3 separate regions of the Homo sapiens genome follow, and regions 1 and 3 are each linked to region 2. The links are contacts of gene promoters, found by promoter capture Hi-C in blood cells and fetal thymus (Javierre and others, 2016). All regions are on one chromosome and are shown on one strand. The core of a region is centred on a gene start or on the middle of the fragment in contact, and the rest is flanking DNA. Distances in the headings are between cores, read along the strand shown. Region 1 has its middle 20 kb from the start of NKX2-8. Region 2 holds the start of LINC00609 (long intergenic non-protein coding RNA 609). Region 3 overlaps SLC25A21 (solute carrier family 25 member 21).

Evidence for each region. Contacts are between HindIII fragments. The CHiCAGO score rates a contact against its expected background, and 5 or more counts as called.
Region 1: a contact is called between a fragment that was not itself captured here and the fragment with the promoter of LINC00609 in region 2, in 5 of 17 cell types (endothelial precursors, M2 macrophages, M0 macrophages and 2 more). The highest score is 9.9, in endothelial precursors.
Region 3: a contact is called between a fragment that was not itself captured here and the fragment with the promoter of LINC00609 in region 2, in 1 of 17 cell types (M2 macrophages). The highest score is 7.4, in M2 macrophages.

What each region holds. Positions count from the first base shown.
Region 1 is chr14:36,601,582-36,604,281 of GRCh38, forward strand. No RefSeq gene overlaps it. Among named protein-coding and RNA genes, the nearest start is that of NKX2-8, 20 kb to the left of the region's middle. The HindIII fragment of the contact is 3,992 bases long and covers 1-2,700 here.
Region 2 is chr14:36,069,139-36,071,838 of GRCh38, forward strand. LINC00609 (long intergenic non-protein coding RNA 609) reads left to right here and starts at 1,289. Exons shown (of 3, transcript NR_073454.1): 1 at 1,289-1,547. The HindIII fragment of the contact is 3,305 bases long and covers 1-2,459 here.
Region 3 is chr14:36,942,810-36,945,557 of GRCh38, forward strand. The region is part of intron 1 of SLC25A21 (solute carrier family 25 member 21); the gene reads right to left. Among named protein-coding and RNA genes, the nearest start is that of MIR4503, 8.2 kb to the right of the region's middle. The HindIII fragment of the contact is 3,902 bases long and covers 1-2,748 here.

The sequences.
Region 1 (2,700 bases), core at 4-2,503, 530 kb after region 2:
TCACTTAAAACTCAGCACATGCCTTCCTGTAACAATTATTCCCAGAATTGCATTTAGCTGTGTCCCTTCAGGTGCAGCAGGCCTGTTTGTAAACTCTGGCGTGATACAGGAACATGCTGGGTGGAGGTATTGGTGTATCCTTTTAGGGACAATAATGGCAGCTCATTTCTATTTATGGATTTAATTGATTCTAATCCAGAAGGCTCTGAAATCATGATTCTGTGCCAAATACCTCCCACAAAGGAGGATGGTTTGAAGACCCCTGTCAATCACCCAGCAGAGGCGATGAGTGCCCAAGTATTTCTGATTTTAAGGAGCCCCTTTAAGCCAATCAATTGCAGAGATTCTTACTTCCCCTGAGCCATGCATGTATTAATTCTATAAGAGCACCTTTCCCATTAAAGAAACTGATTGCAAACTTCCCTTCTAATTGTGAAAATGCTCACCTGCTCAAAGTAAACAGTTTGGGAAAGATACCTTCATTTTGCTTCAGTTATTTAAGTGAGGAGAGTGGAGTTTCAGCAGAAGTTTAAGAAGTTAAAATTCAACACCCATTCACAGTCATAAATACAGCAATTCATGCCTGAAGGGAGCACAGAAACTACAGAATAATCTTGTCGCCATCAGCCACTTTTCAGGGACCTCAGTTTTTTGGTTGGTTACAATCCCTAAGTAAGGGAGTAGTGGGAAGGCAAGTGTAAGGAGACATTGAGCTCATTATTGAGAAGGAATGATTATCAAAAACTGGAGACACTTTGGGAGGCCGAGGCAGGCGGATTGCTTGAGCCCAGGAGTTCAAGCAATATGGCAAAACCACGACTCTATTAAAAAAAAATACAAAAATTAGCCAGGTGTGGTGGTGTGTGCCTATGGTCCCAGCTACTTGGGAGGCTAAGGTGGGAGGATCACCTGAGCCCAGGGAGATTGAGGCCGCAGTGAGCTGTGATTGCACCATTGCATTCCAGCCTGAGCGATAAAGTGAGACCCTGTCTCGAGAAAAAAAAAAAAATGGAGACAATCTAAAAATGCAGAAGTTGGAGAATTATTAAATTAATTATTGATTTTGGTATAATTATATGCTGGAATACTATGTAATCATTAAAAACCATGTTTTATGAAGAACGTATAATGAGATGGGAAAATGTTCATGACACACTATGAAATGTAAAAAGTAGTATGCGAAATTGTGTGTATAATTTTTTAACAATTGGTATCCTAGAGAAAAGACTGCTTTGCAGCAGTTCAAAAGAATGAAGTAAACTTAACTACTCATGTGGGAAAATTCCTAAAGCATGACATTACATCATGAAAGCACATTTCAAAATAATGTACAGCACAATCCTATTTGGGGGGAATGTTGGATGGGGAAGGTTGAAAGGGGCTATAATGTCCTCTATATAATTTGAATTTCTGTAATAAGAATCTGTTTGTATATTATGAAATTTAAGATCACATTTTAAAAATTTAGAGTGGGAGAAAGAAGGGAGAAAAAATACTGGAAATGACTACAGTATTCACATCCCTTCCATTCCATATTGCCTTTCTAGTCACGTGTCCCTAGGTGCTATGGGGTCAGGTTCCTGTGAGGGAAAAAGGAGGGGAGAGCAGGGGCTGGGAGATGGCGTGGTTGTCTTTATTAAGAAACAGTACTTCATGTCCAAAACACCAAAAGCAATGGCAACAAAAGCCAAAATTGAGAAATGGGATCTAATTAAACTAAAGAGCTTCTGCACAGCAAAAGAAACTACCATCAGAGTGAACAGGCAACCTACAGAATGGGAGAAAATTTTTGCAATCTACCCATCTGACAAAAGGCTAATATACAGAATCTACAAAGAACTTAAACAGATTTACAAGAAAAAATCAAACAACCCCATCAAAAAGTAGGCAAAGGATATGAACAGGCACTTCTCAAAAGAAGACATTTATGCAGCCAACACACACATGAAAAAATGCTCATCATCACTGGCCATCAGAGAAATGCAAATCAAAACCACAATGGGATACCATCTCACACCAGTTAGAATGGCAATCATTAAAAAGTCAGGAAACAACAGGTGCTGGAGAGGATGTGGAGAAATAGGAACACTTTTACACTGTTGGTGGAACTGTAAACTAGTTCAACCATTGTGGAAGACAGTGTGGTGATTCCTCAAGGATCTAGAACTAGAAATATCATTTGACCCAGCCATCCCATTACTGGGTATATACCCAAAGGATTATAAATCATGCTGCTATAAAGACACATGCACATGTATGTTTATTGTAGCACTGTTCACAATAGCAAAGACTTGGAACCAACCCAAATGTCCAACAATGATAGACTGGATTAAGAAAATGTGGCACATATACACCATGGAATACTATGCAGCCATAAAAAAGAATGAGTTCACGTCCTTTGTAGGGACATGGATGAAGCTGGAAACCATCATTTTGAGCAAACTATCACAAGGACAGAAAACCAAACACCACATGTTCTCACTCATAGGTGGGCATTGAACAATGAGAACTCTTGGACACATGGTGAGGACCATCACACACCGGGCCCTGTCATGGGGTGGGGGAAGTGGGGAGGGATAGCATTAGGAGATATACCTAATGTAAATGATGAGTTAATGGGTGCAGCCCACCAACATGGCACATGTATACATATGTAACAAACCTGCACGTTGTGCACGTGTACCCAAAAACTGAAAGTAT
Region 2 (2,700 bases), core at 39-2,538:
AATGCATGAGTCACCTACTGGGATAGGCACAGTGTGTGGTTCATTGAATTTAGCTAAATTGTGAGTCATCCATCAATAGTCCTCTTGGTGAACATACTTGTAATAATTTCACACATTACAAACAAAAATAGGTATGATTTTCAAGATTCTTGAAGCTGTTTCCCTTGGGGATTCTTTGGATTGTGTTTAGAGTTTTTTGTGTTGCTAGGTGGTGAGAAACTTGTCAGCTTTGTTTTCAGATGGATCCAAGGCTTGTGTCTCTGTCACGTGATAAAAGAACTTTGGTTTGGGAGGCTCAGGGGCAGAGTATGAAGCTGAGCGTCATGAAGTGGGGGGAAACAGGAATTAGCGATTAATATTTGTCCTTGTCAGATCATTGACTTTTAAGATTGATTTTGGCATCTGAAAAATGTTTGGCTCCACTCTCAGGACAGAGTCAGAGCAGTAAGAATATGCACCTGTGTCCCCCACCCCCTTTTTTCTGATAGGAGAGAGCTGAGCAGGGTGGTTATGTGTCTGTGCACTACTGCCCTCTGTTGGATGGCACTAGAATTTCTCTGTATCCACACCCCAGCTGAATGAGCGCTCCTGGTTGGCTGGCAGGTGACCCAGGCAAATATGTCATTATTGGACTAAGACCAATTAAAAAAAAATAGTTGGCCTGTATAAACTAAGAGAGACCTCTCTCTGGTGGAGAAATAAGAGTGTAGACTTTCTGACCTGTAGGGTTCTTCTATTCTGGTGGCTGCCGGGCAAGAGGCTGGCATCTGCTGCTGAATGACAGGACAGACTTTGTGATTAAACTGCTAGATCTTTGGCTTTTCAGGAAGTGAAAATAATCACAAGATAAAGTATCCTTACTTGCATTTTTCCCCTTTCATAAGTGCAATAGGGCATAAAAGGGCTTTGGCTTTTGGCTACAATCAGAGGTGAAAGTTTTTATATGGATATAAGAAGAGAAGTTAAAGCTCTTTGCAAACTATGGCTAAAGTGCCATGTCAGTAAGACGTATACAGTGACCCAGGACACTGGCTGGGAAGTTTTCTTTGTTTTGGCAGATTCCTCTGCCCTCCTTCACCTTCTCCAAGGTAGCGAGAGTAAGTGTCCAGGCATGAGCCTTGGGGATACTGTCCTGCCACTACTGGCTGAGTAACTTGGGAAAGTTGTCTGACTCTTGGGCCACATTTTTTCTTTTGTGTAAAATGAGGCATTTGAAATAGATGCTATCTCAGAGTCGCTTCATTTCTGAGATGCAATAAATTATCTTTTCTTCCTAGATGATAATGTAAGCACAAAGAACAAAACTATTTAAAGACCACACACATACCCTCTCAAACAAATCACCTCCCTTTGGGAAAGCAACATGTTCACTGTGATAATTCAGCATCAGGACCTGAGGTGGTGGGAACAGCTTTGGCTGGTTTGCTGCTCTCCAAGGAGCTCCTGTGCCGGCCGCATTGGACAAGCATCTCTGCCCTGCGGCGCAGAGTCTCCAGGACCAGCAGATGGCGGACTTGCACAGTCCACACATTTTCCAGGTTCTCAAGGTAAATGGTACTGATTAACATCCAGAAATAACACCCACTGATGTTTGAACAAATTGCAGCGTTTTCCAGGCCACTAAAACCATGGCACTTTGTGAGCTGGAACATTTGCTAATATTTAAAATGGTTAGAAAGATTGTTAATCTATAATACTTTCGAGTGTTAACAGCCTCTTTCACCCACGCATCAGAAACCCTTAATAAATTGGCCTTCTTTTTTTTCAGGTGGGGAAATTAGGGCAGAGGGTCAATTGGCTAAGATCACAGCAGAACTAGTCCAAATAATTCAGACTATACACCTTGGTGATCTTTTAGAATTGTCGTTCCTCTTGCCCTTCCTTTCTTTAATGCCCACTTCTCTTGGTTGTGGAGGGGAATGTGTGTGTTGACTGGGGATATGGAAGAGGAATTGACGTCTTCTGCACTTTGGGGCATTGCCACCTGCCATGGTCATCAAAGCTCCTGATCGCCACAACCTGTATTCAGAATACCTGTGATAATAAGAACTGGCATTTATTGATTACTTACTTTGAGCCAGGCATTGTTCTAAGCATTTCTCACACACTAATCATTTAATCCTTCCAGCAGCCCATAAAGGAGGCAGAGAGAGTAAGTAACTTACCTAGAATAACAGATCTTTGTATTTTTCTAGGCTCTAAAAGCAGCAATGACTTCAATCTATTTTTTAGTGGTAATCACTCTTTCACCCCAGATATTTTCCAGCTAACAGATCATTGACTGATTTTTAATATTTAAATTGAGAAATTTATTGGAGCTTTGGTGATAATCATGTAAGTAAGCCCTGGTTATAGTAGCTTGTAATGCTATTATTAGTGTTCAAGATTTCCTTTCACAACCTTGTGCTTAGAAGGAATGATTCACTAGAAATGGAAATAAGATGTAAATGAAATGGGGAAGCTTGGCAATTTAATCACTCAAGTAATACATATTTTCAAAGTGCTCACTTAATCCACTAGTCACAAGGCGGCATTAGAGATGTGTTGGGGGGTTTCACTCCAACAACATTTATTTATTTCAAAAACATACATAGTGGTTACTGCATACCAGGCACAAATATTAGTTCACTTAATTCTCCTCACAACTATGATGAGCCCCTTTTACAGATGAGGAAACCAAGGTTCAGAGAGGTAAGAAAC
Region 3 (2,748 bases), core at 243-2,742, 870 kb after region 2:
TAACCAAATAGTACTTATACTACTTATACACTAAATTTGGAGTTTTCAAACTAAAATATTATGTGCAGAGGTATAGTTATTTTTCCTTCATGGCACTTTTTAGTAGGAGGGTAAATTTAGATTTGAGCCCCTCCCCTAGTCCACCCCCATCTTTTGGGACTGGGGAAGGTATGGTTCCAGTAGAGAGCTGCTTCTGCCTTAGAAGGCAATGAGTCAGAAACGCAAATCTGAGCAAAGGCGGAATTACTACTACATGCCAGAGAGAGTCACACATCAGTCAAGTCCACCAAGTGAACTCTATAGTCTTCCCAATTGTGAGACTCTATGATTTGCTGAAGAAAGAATTCTATTATATTTTCCTACATAGGGAGATAGATTTTAGTCACTGTCCCTGTGTTTAAGACTGAGTCTCACTCTGTCACCCAGGCTGAAGTGCAGTGGTGCAATCTCAACTCACTGCAGCTCTCTGCCTCCCGGGTTCAAGTGATTCTCCTGCCTCAGCCTCCCGACTAGCTAGAATTACAGGCACGCTCCACCACACCCGGCTAATTTTTGTATTTTTAGTAAAGACACCCTTTCACCATGTTGGCCAGGCTGGTCTTGAGCTCCTGGCCTCATGTGATCTGCCCGCCTTGGCCTCCCAAAAGTGCTGGGATTACAGGCATAAGTCACCGCACCTGGCCCTAGGCTTGTTTTGTATCATGTCTTAGACATGTAGGGGTTTATTTCAGAGCACACAAATGAACTATTCTAAGTATTCACACTATTGGAGGGCTGCTTCTGTCCCTCTGAGTCCCTGCCCTGCTGCTATATGTAAGACCAAGATGAACTGCCCCTGGTAAATCGGTCCTTGTGAAAGTCTGGGGAAATGCCAGGTAACCCAGTGACAGTTCCACTTGGCTCTTTGTAGCTTACACAGTACCAAACCTGAGAGAGCACTGCAAAGTCAGGTCAGGAAGGTTTCGCCAAGGCTTGGAAATAAGAACAGGGTATGAGTCTTATACCACCTAACTGGGCCTTCCAGTTAGCAAGAAGCCTTTGTTTAAAAAGCTGGCTAAGAAACCTCCTAGTAACATATTTCCCTGTAACAAGTTTAATTAATTAATTGAAAAAATACATAGTAAAAGATGTTTATATTAAATATAAAATTATCACCACTAAATTTATTAGAGGAGATAAAAGGCAACAGATTGGGCCTAATTCACTCCAAGAAAAGGATACCCAATTCCCTCTGAAATCCCAAATTCATACATATAAAAATTCTGCTCTAATCCTTCTCCATTTACATCACAGAGCCATGCTCCCGTGTTGGCCTCTGTACTGAAGAGTGACCAGAGGTAAATGCAGGTGCCTCTGGCCAGTTGTCAAGGTCATATCCTGAATCCTGTCGACACCTGGGACCCTAGCCCAGCATACTGTCGGGCAAGGACAAACCCATAGCCTGCCATTAATAGGGGAGGAAAGACATGTGGACAAGTAGCAGACAAAAGTGATTGTCCCAGTGGGCTTTGAGAAATTGTTATGGGAGTCCAGAGGAAGAAAACTGCCTTCAGCTTGCGGTAGGAGTTGGCAGGTTGCGGGTGGAGGGCATAGGGTATCAAGGAAGGCTTTCTGAAGGAGGCAGCTGGGCCTTGAGAGATGACTAACACTTAGTAAACCATGCTGGGGGAGGAAACATCACAGATAGTGAGAGGATCTCCTCTCTCCCTCATCCACACAGGCTGTGGAGAGCGACATCTGTTCCACAGTCTTCTCCCTGAAGGGTGGGGCTCCAAGGGCCGGCTCCAGTGTAAGCATAAACAAGTGACTACGAATGTCCTATTCAATACACAAGAAAACTCATGAACATTTGTAAAGCATTTCTAAGCCACAGAATTCATATGTGCCTCCTTAACAAAGATAAATTTCACATTTTTCCCTTTCTCACAGTTTGTCCCATCTTCTCTCATTTTATTGAGTAGAATGAGCCTTACCTCAAAAGCCAAACAAACACTGACCCAAGATGAGATGCCCTAAAGCTAGGTCCACTGCCTGAAGCTGACTCATCCCATCACAGTTTATTTTTGTTGTGTGAATCAATTCTAATTTTCAAACTGAAATATATGATGGTTTATCATCATTTTGACCTTTTCATAACACTGCTGGTACAGTTGCTGAGAACATGCCAAATCATGTTGATTTCTTCCTTTTTCTAGGAGTGTTCATCCTAGTCAGTCTTCTCAGGACAACCAAAAGCCAAAACCGAAACAAACCAAAAACCTCTTTCCCCTGACTCAGATTATTATTATTTTTAGTTCTTCAGGACTACCTGTGAGGATAAGAAGAAGTGGTTACCCAGTCCATCAGCAAAATGTCCCCATAATCCTTTCAAACTACTGAGAAATAAGGTATGTTATCTTCACTTAATGAAGAAACTGAGACATAAAAGTAAAGAATATTGCTACAAATGGAGGCAGAAATACAAGTTGATACCATGTGCCCAAGTGAGACATCTCATTTTTAGCCTGTGTAAGACAAATTTTAACCATATAATCCAGAAAATCCACTTCTGGGCATATACCCCAAAGAACTGAAAGCAGAGACTTGAAGAGATATTTGTACCCCCACATTCACAGCAGCGCTATTCATGAGAGGCAAGAGGTAGAAGCAACCCGTGTTCATCGACAGATGAATGGAAAAACAAAATAAAGTATATCCATACAAATGGAATATTATTTAGCCTTAAAAAGGAAGGACATTCTGACACAT